2 separate regions of the Homo sapiens genome follow, and region 2 is linked to region 1. The links are contacts of gene promoters, found by promoter capture Hi-C in blood cells and fetal thymus (Javierre and others, 2016). All regions are on one chromosome and are shown on one strand. Each heading gives the region's core, a stretch centred on a gene start or on the middle of the fragment in contact. The rest is flanking DNA. Distances are from core to core; before and after follow the strand shown.

Evidence for each region. The method cuts DNA at HindIII sites, captures the fragments that hold promoters and counts their contacts. A CHiCAGO score of 5 or more calls a contact.
Region 2: a contact is called between a fragment that was not itself captured here and the fragment with the promoter of HOXA10-HOXA9 in region 1, in 3 of 17 cell types (activated CD4 T cells, total CD8 T cells and total CD4 T cells). The highest score is 6.0, in activated CD4 T cells.

What each region holds. Positions count from the first base shown.
Region 1 is chr7:27,175,777-27,182,451 of GRCh38, forward strand. It overlaps HOXA10-HOXA9 (HOXA10-HOXA9 readthrough), which reads right to left and starts at 4,463. Exons shown (of 3, transcript NM_001433944.1): 1 at 3,870-4,463. The coding sequence starts at 3,879. It overlaps HOXA11 (homeobox A11), which reads right to left. Exons shown (of 2, transcript NM_005523.6): 2 at 5,381-6,675. It also overlaps a transcript of HOXA10 not described here. RefSeq lists enhancers at 3,363-3,965, 3,966-4,567. The HindIII fragment of the contact is 5,233 bases long and covers 774-6,006 here.
Region 2 is chr7:26,689,930-26,696,553 of GRCh38, forward strand. It overlaps SKAP2 (src kinase associated phosphoprotein 2), which reads right to left. Exons shown (of 13, transcript NM_003930.5): 10 at 356-433. Among named protein-coding and RNA genes, the nearest start is that of LINC02860, 55 kb to the left of the region's middle. RefSeq lists an enhancer at 1-254. The HindIII fragment of the contact is 882 bases long and covers 2,943-3,824 here.

The DNA.
Region 1 (6,675 bases), core at 3,213-5,712:
TGAACGCCGGCATCCCAGGAAATAGACCGCTCAGGCCGCTGCCTTCAGCTGGGAAAGACTCTTGCATCCGGGTCATACGCGGCACTTTGCCTCCTTCCTCCCAGTGTGAATCCAGCCCAAGGTGGAAGAGGAGCCTGAGAGGACCCTGAAAGCGCAGAGAGAGCTGGCTAGGTAGAGCTCCAGCTCTGGCTTCTGAGATTCAAGCAGCTGCGGTCGCTGCGGGCAGTGGCTGCTCCGAGCTCCGGGCCCAGAAGGCCGCTCCACCGCTAGCGCGGCGCTCCAGCCACTTCAACCTCGGCGCCCCACGGTGACCCGGCCGTAAGGACTGAGCATCAGGGTGCGGAGGAGGAGGATGGAGAGAAAAAGAGAGAGATAGAAGGAGAGACGGACAGAGGGAGAGAAAAGAGAGAGAAACAGGAGGGGAGAGAGAATAAGAAAGCCAGTTCTCTCCAGCCTGACAGGGTCTTGAAGCTGCAGCAGCGGCTTTAGAGGGATCAAGACAGGGTCTGTGCCAAGAGATCATTAACTCTCCTTCGCTCTTCGCATGCTCCTGCGCCCAAGGCCAAGGCAAATTCTCTACCCTCTAGGCCCATGAGACGGACGAACCTGAGTGCAGAAAAGCTTCAGAGCACCGCAGCCAGTGGCCCTATCTTTAGCTTCCCGGATCTGCCTGGTCCTTACCCTGCTCACCAGAAGGGTGGAACTGGCTGGGACTGTTGCCCTTAGCAATGCCACCTGGAAATGCCACAGAGCTGGGGGCTGCCTAGGAAGGAAGCTTTGCTCTTCAGCACTGCCCATGCCTCTCAGAAAAGCTGTGTCATTTGGCAAGTGGGTCCCAAGACCTTCGAGGTTTCCTCAAGGATAATGAGCCGTGGCAGGTCAGTGGGCCAGGACCTGGGCCTAGAGTCATGCCTCTCCAGGCTAAATGCAGAAAGCAACTTCCCAGGCCGACATCTGGGAAGGTCCAGTATATATTTGAGATAGTGGAGGCTATACAAATAAAGTAAAAGACAATGATCTTAACCTATCTTTCCTAACCTTTTAGGGAGTCAGGACCCTTCTGGAAAATCCAAGTAAGTTTTGACTCATTCTGTGAAAAATGCATATCTGTATATTCCCACAATTTGATCCATCATTTCGAAGGAGTTCACACACCCCTCAGTCTTTTCCTTGGGTCTTCCAGAGTCCCCCAGTGTCCTGGGACTTGGGGGCCCTGCCAATTTGGCTGGCAAGACAAGCTGGGTGCCCTGCAGCAGACAGCTCAGGTCAGGGCCCCGTAGGGCAGCCAAATGGGCTTCTAGGCTGGATAGAATCCAGGGACCTGCACGTGCCAACCAAGGTTACAAAAGTCAGTTTGTATCGCATCTGCTACAAAAGGCTGCCCCAGCCGAAGAGTAGAGGAGCTGGGAGGCCTGCTATGGGCCTCGCAAGCCGTGGCGTTGGCACTTGGGTCTTCAGTGACCTTTCTGTGGTGAGCCAGATGTGTTTCTTTAGTATGACTTTTTCCCCCTTGTAATAAACCAAACGGGATGTTGGGCTTGAGCTCCTTCTGGCTTTTAAAAAGAGTGTGTAAGCTCATGTATGGCAGCCCCTCTCTGGCCCAGGACTGCCTTCCAACTCCCACCAGGGCTTGCTGAGTGGGAAACGCAGCGAGACACTGCCGGTGAGCTGGCCGGCTGCAGGCGGGCCGGCTGCTGCTGGTTCAAATGAGAGGATACTAACGCAGCAGAAGCTCAAGTTAAACGCCTCCTTGGCCCTCTCAGTTGGTCTCCTAGCCCCCAGCATCCCTGACCGACCCCCAAGGCTCCCATGCTCTCTAGACTTTAACACTGGAGTGTTAGGTTTCTCAATAAAATATTCCATTTATTGAGCGCCTCGGCTTTCCTGAGATTCCCCACCCCAAGAGATGAAGAAAGCGATTCAGTTGTAGTGTGGGTCGGCTTCCAAGCACTTTTCCTCCCTCGTGCTCATTTGCCTTCTTTCTTTTTTGCCATTCTTCCCAGCTACTAAATTTCTCCCTCTCCCTCAGGGTAACTTTGACCTAAATCTTCAGTGCCTGCTTGCCTCAACCAGGCCTTATGCAGCGGTTACACAGTCACCTCCAGAGCCCATGTTTTATTTAGGAGGAAATATTGCCCATTTCTACCCGGGTAATAACCTGCCAGCCCTATGGGGCCAAAGTAAACACCAGGCCCATGGATTAAGGCCTTCGGCAAGGATTAGGCTGCAGTTCACTAGGTACTCCTTCTGAGTAGGCCCTTGTAAGCAGTGAGAAATAAACTATTATGAAAAACAAGTTCCTAATGAAAAGATACCAGGTCCTGAGATCGAAACTGCTAGTAAACAATTTATATCTGGAGGGCACTCTCAATGCTTTCAAGACTCTGAATTATCCAGCGGTGGAGTTGGGCTGCAGTCCCACAGAGGAAAAATAAAGGCTGCTTTTACATATCTGGCTTTAGCAAAAAAAGAAAAAAAAATCAGAGCTTCTCATATCCATGCATTTATGCATAGTTAGAAAATTTTTCCACAAGCAATGATGTTCTTTTCCCATTCATCTTTAAGAATGTCAACATTTTCAGGGATATTTGATGTGTCTGTTTTGAATCTATCAGGTGCAATCTATTACTAAACAACATACTTTTAAAGTTTTCTAAATCCAACCATTAAGATGGCCCTTCCCCTGTTAGGGAAGTGTTGGGGCCTTTTCACACACCCTTTGAATTGCAATATTCTTAGATTTGTTCATAATAAACAGCCTCTGGCCTTAGAACTGGAGGCGGCTCTGGCATTGTAGGGAGGGCTCCCGCTGCAGAGAGCAGCTCACTGGGTGGGCGCTCATTTCTTGCCTTGTTGCTTTGCTCCGTCATAGTTTGGGAGCCAGCCTTCAACAAAGACTAGTAACTATGATAGGCAAAATTTACGCAACAAACAGGCAGTGCCTACTTTCTCTGGGATTCACCCCACTCACCACGCACTGTATATTTGGGAAAAGAAAAAGATGTGGGAAACTAATGGAAAAATAGTAGAAAAAATTAAATATAGGAGAAAGAGGGAATTTGAATCGATCCTTCAAAATGTAATGGAATTTTTTCATTTAAAATGTGTTTGATGACAACCCCAATGGAGTGATTGCTCCGTCAAAATTTATCCTCGGTTCCAGCTTTTTAAAAAAGTATTAGTATTTACCAATACATTTTTGCATATTTGCAAAATATCTTCTACAAAAGATCTAATTTTCATATGTAAGAAATTGCTGCGAAATTGCAGCTGGGTTTATAACAGCGTACTCCAAGTATGCAACACAGAGACTTGTCTGGCACTCTCAAAAATCACATGCGACTTCTCCGAATTGGCCTTTTTCGGAACAAAGGTTTTCTCCAAGCTGCCGGGCAGACATAGAGATGCACCTAGTAGGAAACCAGTGACCTCCAGGACTTCTGCCCCTGGGAATAAGCTCGCCTTAGCGGCCGCAGACTTCTACCACCCCATTGTTTAGAATGGAAACTTTGTTTTCCTCAACCCGCGATCACCTTTTTTTTTTTTTTTGCCCTCCCACAACCCCCTATCGCAGCACAGCTGGAACACTTTCGCCTAGATGCCTCTCATCCCTAGCCCATTCTATTCTGTGTATTTCTACAAAATCGAAAGATTCGCCTTGAGTGAAATGCTGGCGCAAGGAGCTAAAATCCTCAACTTTTCTACTTAGGCCTCCCCCTGCTTTCCAACCTTAGGGAGCAATGGGGTGGGGGCTCCCTACCGCGTCACCCCACAAACCCAGCCACGTTCCCGAGAGCCCTGCTTAGACATCGGCCACCTCCCCACTCCCGCCCCACCAGACTGAAATTGCTAAACTTGTGGCCTCTTACCTTGACACATTTCCGAAATCACTGCCAAGGGACAGCTGGCTTCTCCGCGCGGCGACGCTCGCGAGGCCTAGCGAATGCGCGTTGCTTTAAATTACCATACCAATCACTTCTTGAGGGTGAGTCCCCTTTTTCTGTTATGAAGGGGAGCGGGACAAGTGAAATAATGTACCGTGCTGCTCTTAGTATCAGAAGCGAACAAAGGCCAAGAATCATGCTGGGGTTCCCGGCTCCCCGGCGGCTTTGACATTGATCGGAAGTGCGCCATCTCGTGGCGGCTGCGCGCCTAGGTTGGGCCGGAGTTCCAGCCCCGAGCCGAGAGACGGAAACCAGCTCCGGGCAGAGAGAGAAGGAGAGAGGAGAGGATGTGCCCAGCCCGCTGCTATTGAGATCTCATTTTTACATCTAAGAAATCGCTGCAAAACCCCAGCCGGGTTTATAGCGGCGCATTCCAAATATGCAAATTGGCCGGCCCCGGACGGGTTTACGACCACATTGTCACAGCCATCGGAGGATGGGCTTTTATAGGGCTCAGAAATCAAACCCGCGCCCGCCCGCCGCCCGCCCGCGAGCAGTCCTCCTGGCTAGACTCTCTCTAGCAACTTGAGAGACTTTGGTTAATCTTTAACCATCCCAAAGGAAGTCTTTCCCTAAACCCAGGCTTCCCAGCCCGCCCCCTCCCTGCCCCCCAGGAGGGCCCTTGTTCATGTCTGCGTGTCTGCCTATCAACCTAGACATTCATCTCTAGATCTGTCCCACTACCCTTTCAGCTCGATTTCCCCAGTCGCGCCAGTTAGACAAACACACAAACAAATAAACAGAGTGGGGTCTGGGGCCTCTCTCCAAATGCGACCCTATCTGCTGCTCTGGCCCTGCCTGGGTGGCTGAAGAGAGGGTGGGGTGGGCAACAAAGGGCTCTGTCCTTTCAGCCCTTCTCCTCAAGGTTATGGGTGATGTCCAATTTTAAGGCAGAAGTTCAAAGGCAGCAAACAAAGAGGAAATCGGCATCCTTTTTTTTTCCCCCAAAGGGAAAAAGCAGCCTCAGCTGGGAGCTGGGGAGAAAGCACCCTTAGAGGCTCCTGGGAGTCTGCTCTGCCTTGGAACCCAGACCAGGCTCCCTCTTGTTGAAGCCTCCACGGGCCCCCGGACGGTCCCACTGCAGGCCTACCTGTCCTGAGGTGAGCGAGGGCAGCCTGGGGTCTGACCTGTTGGCCACCTCAGGCCCCAAGGCCCTCTCCAGGGCTGAGATCAGTCTGAGGGGATAAAGTCCTATATTCCAGGCCCTGAGATACCACCCAGGTCCCCACTTCCCACAAGGACGTAGCCAACCACCTTGGTTTCCTAAGCCTGGCTTCTGTTGTAGCCAATTCCTGACTCAGTCACCTTCTCACCCCCTCAGGGGCCTGATAACTTGCTCCTCAACTAGGTAAGGCATTTTTTGGGGGGGTGGGGGGAGGGGGGCAGACATTTGGTAGTAAAAGGCGATCAGGGAGAGGAATGTCACACCAGGATACTCAAATTTCCACCGTCTTTATTTTCCTTGTGCCCAGTTGCCTGTATAAGTGCTGCAACACACACGGTGGGTAAGAACCAGAATTGAGGACAGGCCAACACTCCCAGTACAAATGGAGCCAACAGACATTTCTTAACACAGGGAGGCAAAGGAGATTCAATGGGAGGGTGCCTGGCTTTCCCAGATGAGATCCCCAGGCCGGCCAGGCCGACTGCCTCTGAGCATTTCCCTAACTCTTTCCAAATGTTGCAAGAGATTAAAAAGACCATTCTCAATACCTTTTCCACCCCCTCCAACACCCTAAAGGAAATCAACTAATGGCAAAAGAAAAAAGAAAAAGAGAAAGAAAGAAAAGAAAATTGATTATGGTTCCTTTATTTACAAGTTTTTTGAACACCATCCCTGTATGAAGCATACATTCAAATATTCTTAGCAGTGAGCGAGTTTAACCACGGAACACTGTAAACAGATAGGGCCTTTAAATATTTTCATCATCTCTTTTCCCCTCTACATTGCATCTTTTAAAATTCGCTTTGGTTCCTTCAGGGAAATATATATATATATAATATAATATTTATCTTTTAAAATAATTCCACCTCACTCTCAGGCTCTTGGAAGGTCACCAGAAGCTTCCAAGCTCAGTTCAAGAGCCAATGAGGGCTGAGTGTGGTGCTGGAACCCGGTGTTTTGGGGGACTCAAGGCCCTCATAGCCAAAGCTGGGGACCTGCTGGCCAGGCCCACTGCTCTGCAGCCAGACACTGAGCAAATCCAAGTTTCATTACGTGTGGTGGAGAGTTTGCCAAACTGCCACACTCCACAGCCATTTCCTGCAGAGATCTCAGGGGCCAGTGGCCTGGCTGCAGCCTCTTGGCTTTTCCACATCTCCCACCTCAGGGAACAGTCCACTCTGTGTCGAGGCTTTGGGCCTGAGTGGCAGGCTGGAACCAAGACCCTCATTTGGTAGAAAGAAAAGCCAGGTGGGCTGTAGGAGGCGGTGGCTAGGAACTCAGGGCTGGATCAGTGTGGTGGGTGGCTAGGAGGAGTGGAAAGACACTGATGCCACCTGGAATCATAGATTTCTTTTCCCACAAGGATTTGCAGCCCTCTTCCACCTCAAAGCTACCTCCAAGTCCAGCCGCTGTTCACATTGGCTTTGGAAAGCAGCCTCATTCTGGGCACCTAGTAATCCTACCCCTTCCTCCTGCCCCTGTCCCCAAGCTGAACTGGGCTTGGAGAGCACACAGCTTTTTTACTCAGGGGTCCTGGGGGTGGGTAGGCTCCCAGTAGAGGGAGGG
Region 2 (6,624 bases), core at 2,134-4,633, 490 kb before region 1:
CAGCAACTGCATGTTGTATCTATAAACTGTCCTTTAGCAGTGACACTTCCTCAATGATGATAAGCTAATTTATGCAACTAAATCTCCTTTGTGCAGAAATGAAAGCTAATTGAGTCATTACAAAGTAATTCAGGAAGGAATACCTTGTATAAATTGGCTTACTTTATAAATCCTTCTCAAGTGGTTTTCATGCATCCTAAATGGGACTAAGCAGCTTATCAGCCATAAGATATCCAAGCCAAAAATGCCAACTTTGGGGAGCTGTGTAAACATCTTTAGAACAGTAAGAACATGGATAAAATGAAAGTGAACAAAAGCAAAATAAGGTTTGCCAAGAAGCTACACAAGTCATTACCTGAGGTGTGATGGACACTATCCTGACTCATCTTCCTTTGTTCTTCCACTTTCACTGGAGCACTGTCCTCTTCTTCTTCTGTAAATAAACATTATCAATGGCACATTGAAGGGTTTTCTCAGGGATAACACTACAGTACTCACTCAATTTTAAAAGCAAAACTAAAAGTTTATAACACATAAACATTATTTTTCAAAGAATAAAATAACTCAAGATTCACAGTCCTTTTTCGACAATCTAACACTGAATAAATAAAATACTAGCTACTGCCAAATAGCAACCTTTCCAACTTTCCACATAGCAAACTTTCCAACTTTCCAATAAAATACTAGCTACTTCCAAATAGCAACCTTTCCAACTGGCTTGGCAAAATTTAAGATATGTACTAATGCACTGCATGTTTTGTTTTAAATACTTTTAGAAACTCATCTGGAACAATCTTAATTTCAGGAAAACCCTTAAATCCAGTAAAGTAACACCCAGCGTTATACTGATACACCACATTGTACTGTGTGGCAGGAGTATCATATATAAAATCATGGTCCCTAAAACATCATATAGCAAGGAGAAATGTGTGATTAAAAATGCAGTTAACCTATAAATCATTTTTTTGAGTATCACATAATTTCATACGTTTTCTCAATCTTCACAGGAAGATACTATAATGATCTTCATCCTTTGAGGTAATTCCCCCAAAATTATACCAAGGACCTATTATGTGTCATATACAATGCTGGATGTTAAAATCTCATAGACAAATAATTTTTAATCCTCATTCTACAGACAAGTTTATCTTTAGAGACTCAAAAAGGTGAAGTAACTTCCAAAGTGTGTCATTCGAACTTAAGTTTGTGATTATAAAGTCAATGTTCTTTATCCTACATATAATCAGTGCTCCATTTACATTTGTTCCACACTCACCTATACCATTCCTTCCCCAAATTATGCAAAGAAATAAGATAAAATTAAATGAGAAGAGCTTTAAATAGACTTAATAAACTAATTCATTTACACCAAGAAAAATATTTATTACATGATTTTTCCTCACCTAAGGATTTGCATACAAACCTAGAAATACTTAAGGCAGGACATATAAACAAATGGCATGCCAAAGAAAAACTGGATTCAAAGAGAATCATAATTTCAAGAAAACTCCTAAAACTTTAAAGAAAAATATGCAAAATATATAAATGTAGTCATTGTAACTATTCAATCAATCAGTCAATCAATCTTCATTGGATATTAACTAACTGTGAGACAGAAGAGATCTACCAAGGAGGTAAAAGTAACAGGAAGCCTCTGCTCACAGGAAGCTGACAGCACAGATGGGACAGAAGACAAGCTCTAAAGGAAAACAGGCTGAAGGGGCCTAAACCTGACAAGTGATGCACAAAGCACTGAAGAAGTGCAGCAGAGAAACCCCCCAACTAGGGAGTACCACGGAGGCTCCAAGGGATGGAGAGAGTTTAAATAAGGAGAGAGGATAAGAAGGATATTTCCGGAGGGATAGGTATGATCTTTAAAAGAAAAAGGCATGTTCATATTCATTTTGACTAAAGAATCTGGTACACATAGGGGAAGAGCTGGGTAGGAGTTACGCTCATAGTTTGGACCAGCTGTTGAGGGGCCATGAACATCTTGTTATGGACTGCAGGCTTTTATTTGGTGGGCAATAAGAGCCTTCGAAGGTTTTTTGAGCAGAGAAAGGGCAGGACTGAAGCTATGCTTCAGGAATGGACATCTGATCCCATTGTCTCAGACAGCCTAAAAAAGGGGCGGGAGAGAGACTACTGTGGATAAAGGGGAAGGAAGTCCTGAACTGAAGGGGCAAAGGAAATGGAAAGGAGATGGTTATAAGAGGTAAAGGAACTAGAATGGATAAGCTTTGTGCCTGAATGTGGAGGAATGAGGGGGGGGAAAAGAGCAACAAAGGATGGCTAAGGTTTTGAGCTTAGTTAACTGAGAAATGGACATATTATTACTAAAAGGAGGATAGCCAAAATAATCTATCTTACTGGGGAACACAAAGAGTTGTGTTTTCAACAGGAGGAATTTAATGTATTGGTGAGGCAACCCAGAGAACATGTCTGGGCAACTGCAAAGTATGGTAGAGCAGTCAGGACTACAGGTGGAAATTTAGGAGTCTCCTGAAAATGTTAAATGGGGATGAATCAAAATCAGCATTTCAACCAAGCTTGAGAGGGTAGCTGTACTTACACGACAAATAGAACTGTTCTGAATTTCTGTAACTCAATTCAAACAAAATAATGACAACTCCAATATAAGGGACACCTGAAAATATCTGGCATTTTATTCATATTGTTAAACATAACACTGACAATTTAATATGGTTCAGTCAAATATATAGAAGACCTAATAAAAGTATACCACTCTTTTAAAAAGTATCCTGTCTCTTTTCTTTTTAACAATAGTTATCTCACTTATGCCAAACCTTAAAGGCTAGCTTTAATAAATGGGTTAATAGGGTGTTTCCATATAAATTTTTAAAGGTAGAAGGAACGTTTACAGTCATTATTCCAACCTACTCATTTTATTGACAGATAATTTGGTAAAAGGTGAAGGAGAAAGCTTTCCTTACTTTTCACACTTTCTTTCCATAGCACCCACTCCCCTTTTAATTTAGTCACAAATTCAATAGTAAGAAATAAATTAAAAAATGGATAAAGGCACTCGTCCTCAGTCAAAAGCTATAACCGCATCAATACAATAAGTATTATTAGTGGCTTTTAAGAAGAGACTGTGGGGGCTGGGCATGGTCGGTCACGCCTGTAATCCCAGCACTTTGAGAGGCCCAGGCGGGTGGATCACCTGAGATCAGGAGTTCGAGACAAGCCTGGCCAACATGGCAAAACCACGTCTCTACTAAAAATACAAAAATTAGCATGGCATGGTGGCAGGCGCTTGTAATCTCAGCTACTCAGGAGACTGAGGAAGGAGAATCGCTTGAACCTGGGAGGCGGAGGTTGCAATGAGCTGAGATCGCGCCACTGCACTCCAGTCTGGGCGACAAGAGTGAAGCTCCATCTCAAAAAAAAAAAAAAAAAAAAAGAGACTGTGGGATTTAGATTTCACCACCCAAATCAGCATGAACATATAAAAATTCATTACAAGACTTAATGAAAAAACTCTGCTCTTTGACAAAGTTAACAATGAATTTAGAAGTATTTGTTACTATGAATTTTTTATTTTATTAAAACTTAAGTGCCAGTAACATGTGCTCTGGATTGTATATTGGTGTCAGAGAGCTTTGTTCTTAGAAATATGCACTCTTAAATTATCAGAATAATGATATTAAAAGTATTTACTTAAGAATTAATGTTTACTATAAAATATCCAAATTGAAATCCATGTAAGATGCCATTTAATAAGCAGATTTTAGAGGATGAGATGCTCATTAAGGACACTTCCTTTTTCCATTTTAAACCTGGTAGCGATATTTTTAAACCAAAGCTTTATGCATTTAATATATCAATTTTTCTTAACAATATTTAAACAACTCATTTTATCTTGGCTAACAATACAAATAGCTTCCATATAAAAGATAACAAAATCAAATATGGTGTATGTTTTTGAATCTTAGGCAGGGAAAAAAACCTCAGACTGAACCTTGAATAGAACTTGGCACAAAGGAGATGTTCGATAAATACAGAATAAACAAATGGATTAAAAAAATCATACAAATAAATCTTAACATATTCATTTATTAATAGAATAAAGCTCTTAAAAATATGTAAGAACAAGTGACCAAAATTCTAGGCAATAATCACCTTCACAATATATTAGAAATATATACATTCACATATTTTTTTATTTAGGTTTATTATTAAATATGTATTATTTTGGTGTTGAGGCACAATGTCATTGTACAATACTAATTAATACCTCAAGTAGTCAATGTTTGTGAGTTAATATATTCCATTCAACATTTTAATAACAGTAAACAAAAACAGCTCAGCTATGCAGTAAAATCCATCAAACCACACAGATGGTTATAAGGTTTTCATTATGTGGTTTCCATAGCAATCATATTGCAAACCTGGAAGCTTCTTGCAAATAAGCAGCTTGTATTTACATGCCTCTCAGCTGCAGCACAAAACTCTTCAACATGTGAAGTTATTATTCCAATCACACATTGTTAGAAGAATCATCAGGAGATTTTTTTTTTTTTTTTTGAACAGACAGGATGAAAGTAACAGTAAAGTGAGCTAAGTGCAGAAGAAAATTCAAACATAGTCACACATTTACTAAACTGATCAGTGAGAACAGCAGAAATGTTCTGGTAGTCATCAAAAGGTTTTAACAATAAACTCTGTCAAAAATATGAAACTTCCAGGAGCAATCAGACCCTGAAGAATTAAAAAAAAAAACAACTGCACCCACCCCTCTTTTTAATAGATATTTGGCCTTCTCTCTGAGTTAAGCAAAGAGAGGAAGAATGGCAAATAGTTTGAGTCTTCCCAAATCTTTTTAGCATTTGAGAAAAGGCTTACTGTGGGAAAAGTCATGGCCCTTTTTCCCCCTTTTTAATCTATTTAATTTACAAAATTGATCCAGTTCCATAACAGATGGATTATTACCCTAATAGGGATTGCAAATCTGTCTAGCTATGCAGTTTTTACAAAATGGGCATTTACGGCTTACTAATGTTCTTATCTTTAGGATAAATAACCAAAAAGAAGAGTGATAAGCAAATGGCACCATTTAGCTGACACTGCTTGAAAAAAGGTTGAAGAAAATTTGTTAACACCAACTCAAGGTATGCGATGTTCACATCAAGGCCGAGGACTGATTTTATCATCTCTTCCAGGGAGAAGAGGAAGATGATATAAAAAATCTTTCACTTACATAATGATCACCTTTCTCACTAAATACCCTCAGAAAACAGCTTTACTAAATTATAATGTACTTTAAAACATAAAACACAGAATCAAAAGTTAAGCTCTGAAATAAAGTTTGGATTTAGATCTCCACCTGTCCAGGCATTATTTAATATTATATATTTTTCTCAGGAAATGTGAATATTTATTGCTTAAATGTTCACATTATATGCATTTATATCCATTATGTAACTAAATCCTCCAACAATTCTATGAGGTAATTATAAGTACTTTTATCATCACCATTTTATGAATATGAAAAATGAATTTATGGAGCTTGAATAACTTGTCAAGGTTCATACATCCAGTTAGTACATAAGCTGGGATTTTAACTTTAGGCATATGCCTTAACTCTAAGCCACAGTGTCTCCTCCTTTATTTTCATTAAAATCTTCAATTTACAGGTGGATTGCTTTCTAAAATTTTACTTAAAATACTGTCTGTTTGTGGACTTTGAAAACATTTTCACATAGAATAGTAGGTTCTACACTATCATAGCATCGTATCTGAAGAACATCTTAAGCAAACTTTTTAGTGCTGATTTAGAAACAATTGCAACCAGGGCTGCCCAAAATATATGGTCTTCTTTCTCCTCTCCCAGTTCCCCTTCCTCACCTCTAGCTTTTAACACACTCCTCTGTTCCTAAAGTTACACACTATTTGGGCATTGCACACAAGATGCCCGAGTGGGAGATGGAAGAGGTGACATGGGGGAACAGAGGACACCACCGGCTAGTCCTAGTGGTAAAATGTAAAAGATAGAAGTACTGGGAGGATACATACAAATGGAACCCCACCCGCTCTTCTCTCCCATGACCTGTGGCAAGTCACAAAGGCTGGAAGAAGGGTTGGAAAAGTTAGAGTCGAATCTAAGGGGTATGGGCAAAAGATTCACAATTATGACAGCAAGGGAAAGTGAGCTCCCCAGGGGCCTATAAATCTAGAACTACTGGTAATATGAAGGATTTTTATATTACTATATTTTATTATACTTCTAAAGGACTGTTCTGTCTATTCAATAGACTATTATTTTACAGCAATAAAATACATATTTTTAAAAAGATATAAGCATGTGCCTTTTAGCATTATACAAACTTCAGAATGAATGGAAGGATAAAGATGACTGAAATAGCATAGTTAGAGTCATGTTTACTCTTATGGAAATTTGGCAAAGTGGGGCCTATTGTTACAGCTCTGTTACTCACATAAACTGGACACTGCTTCTAATTCTTAGTGTCATCTCTGTATTTCAAAGTAGGAAGAGTAAGTCTATCCCATAGCACTTTGAAGAAGGATTTGGGGAAGACAATGAGATAACCAGATTTCTCAGGGGAAAAAATGAAAAATTAGTATGCTGTATCAAGTTTATTA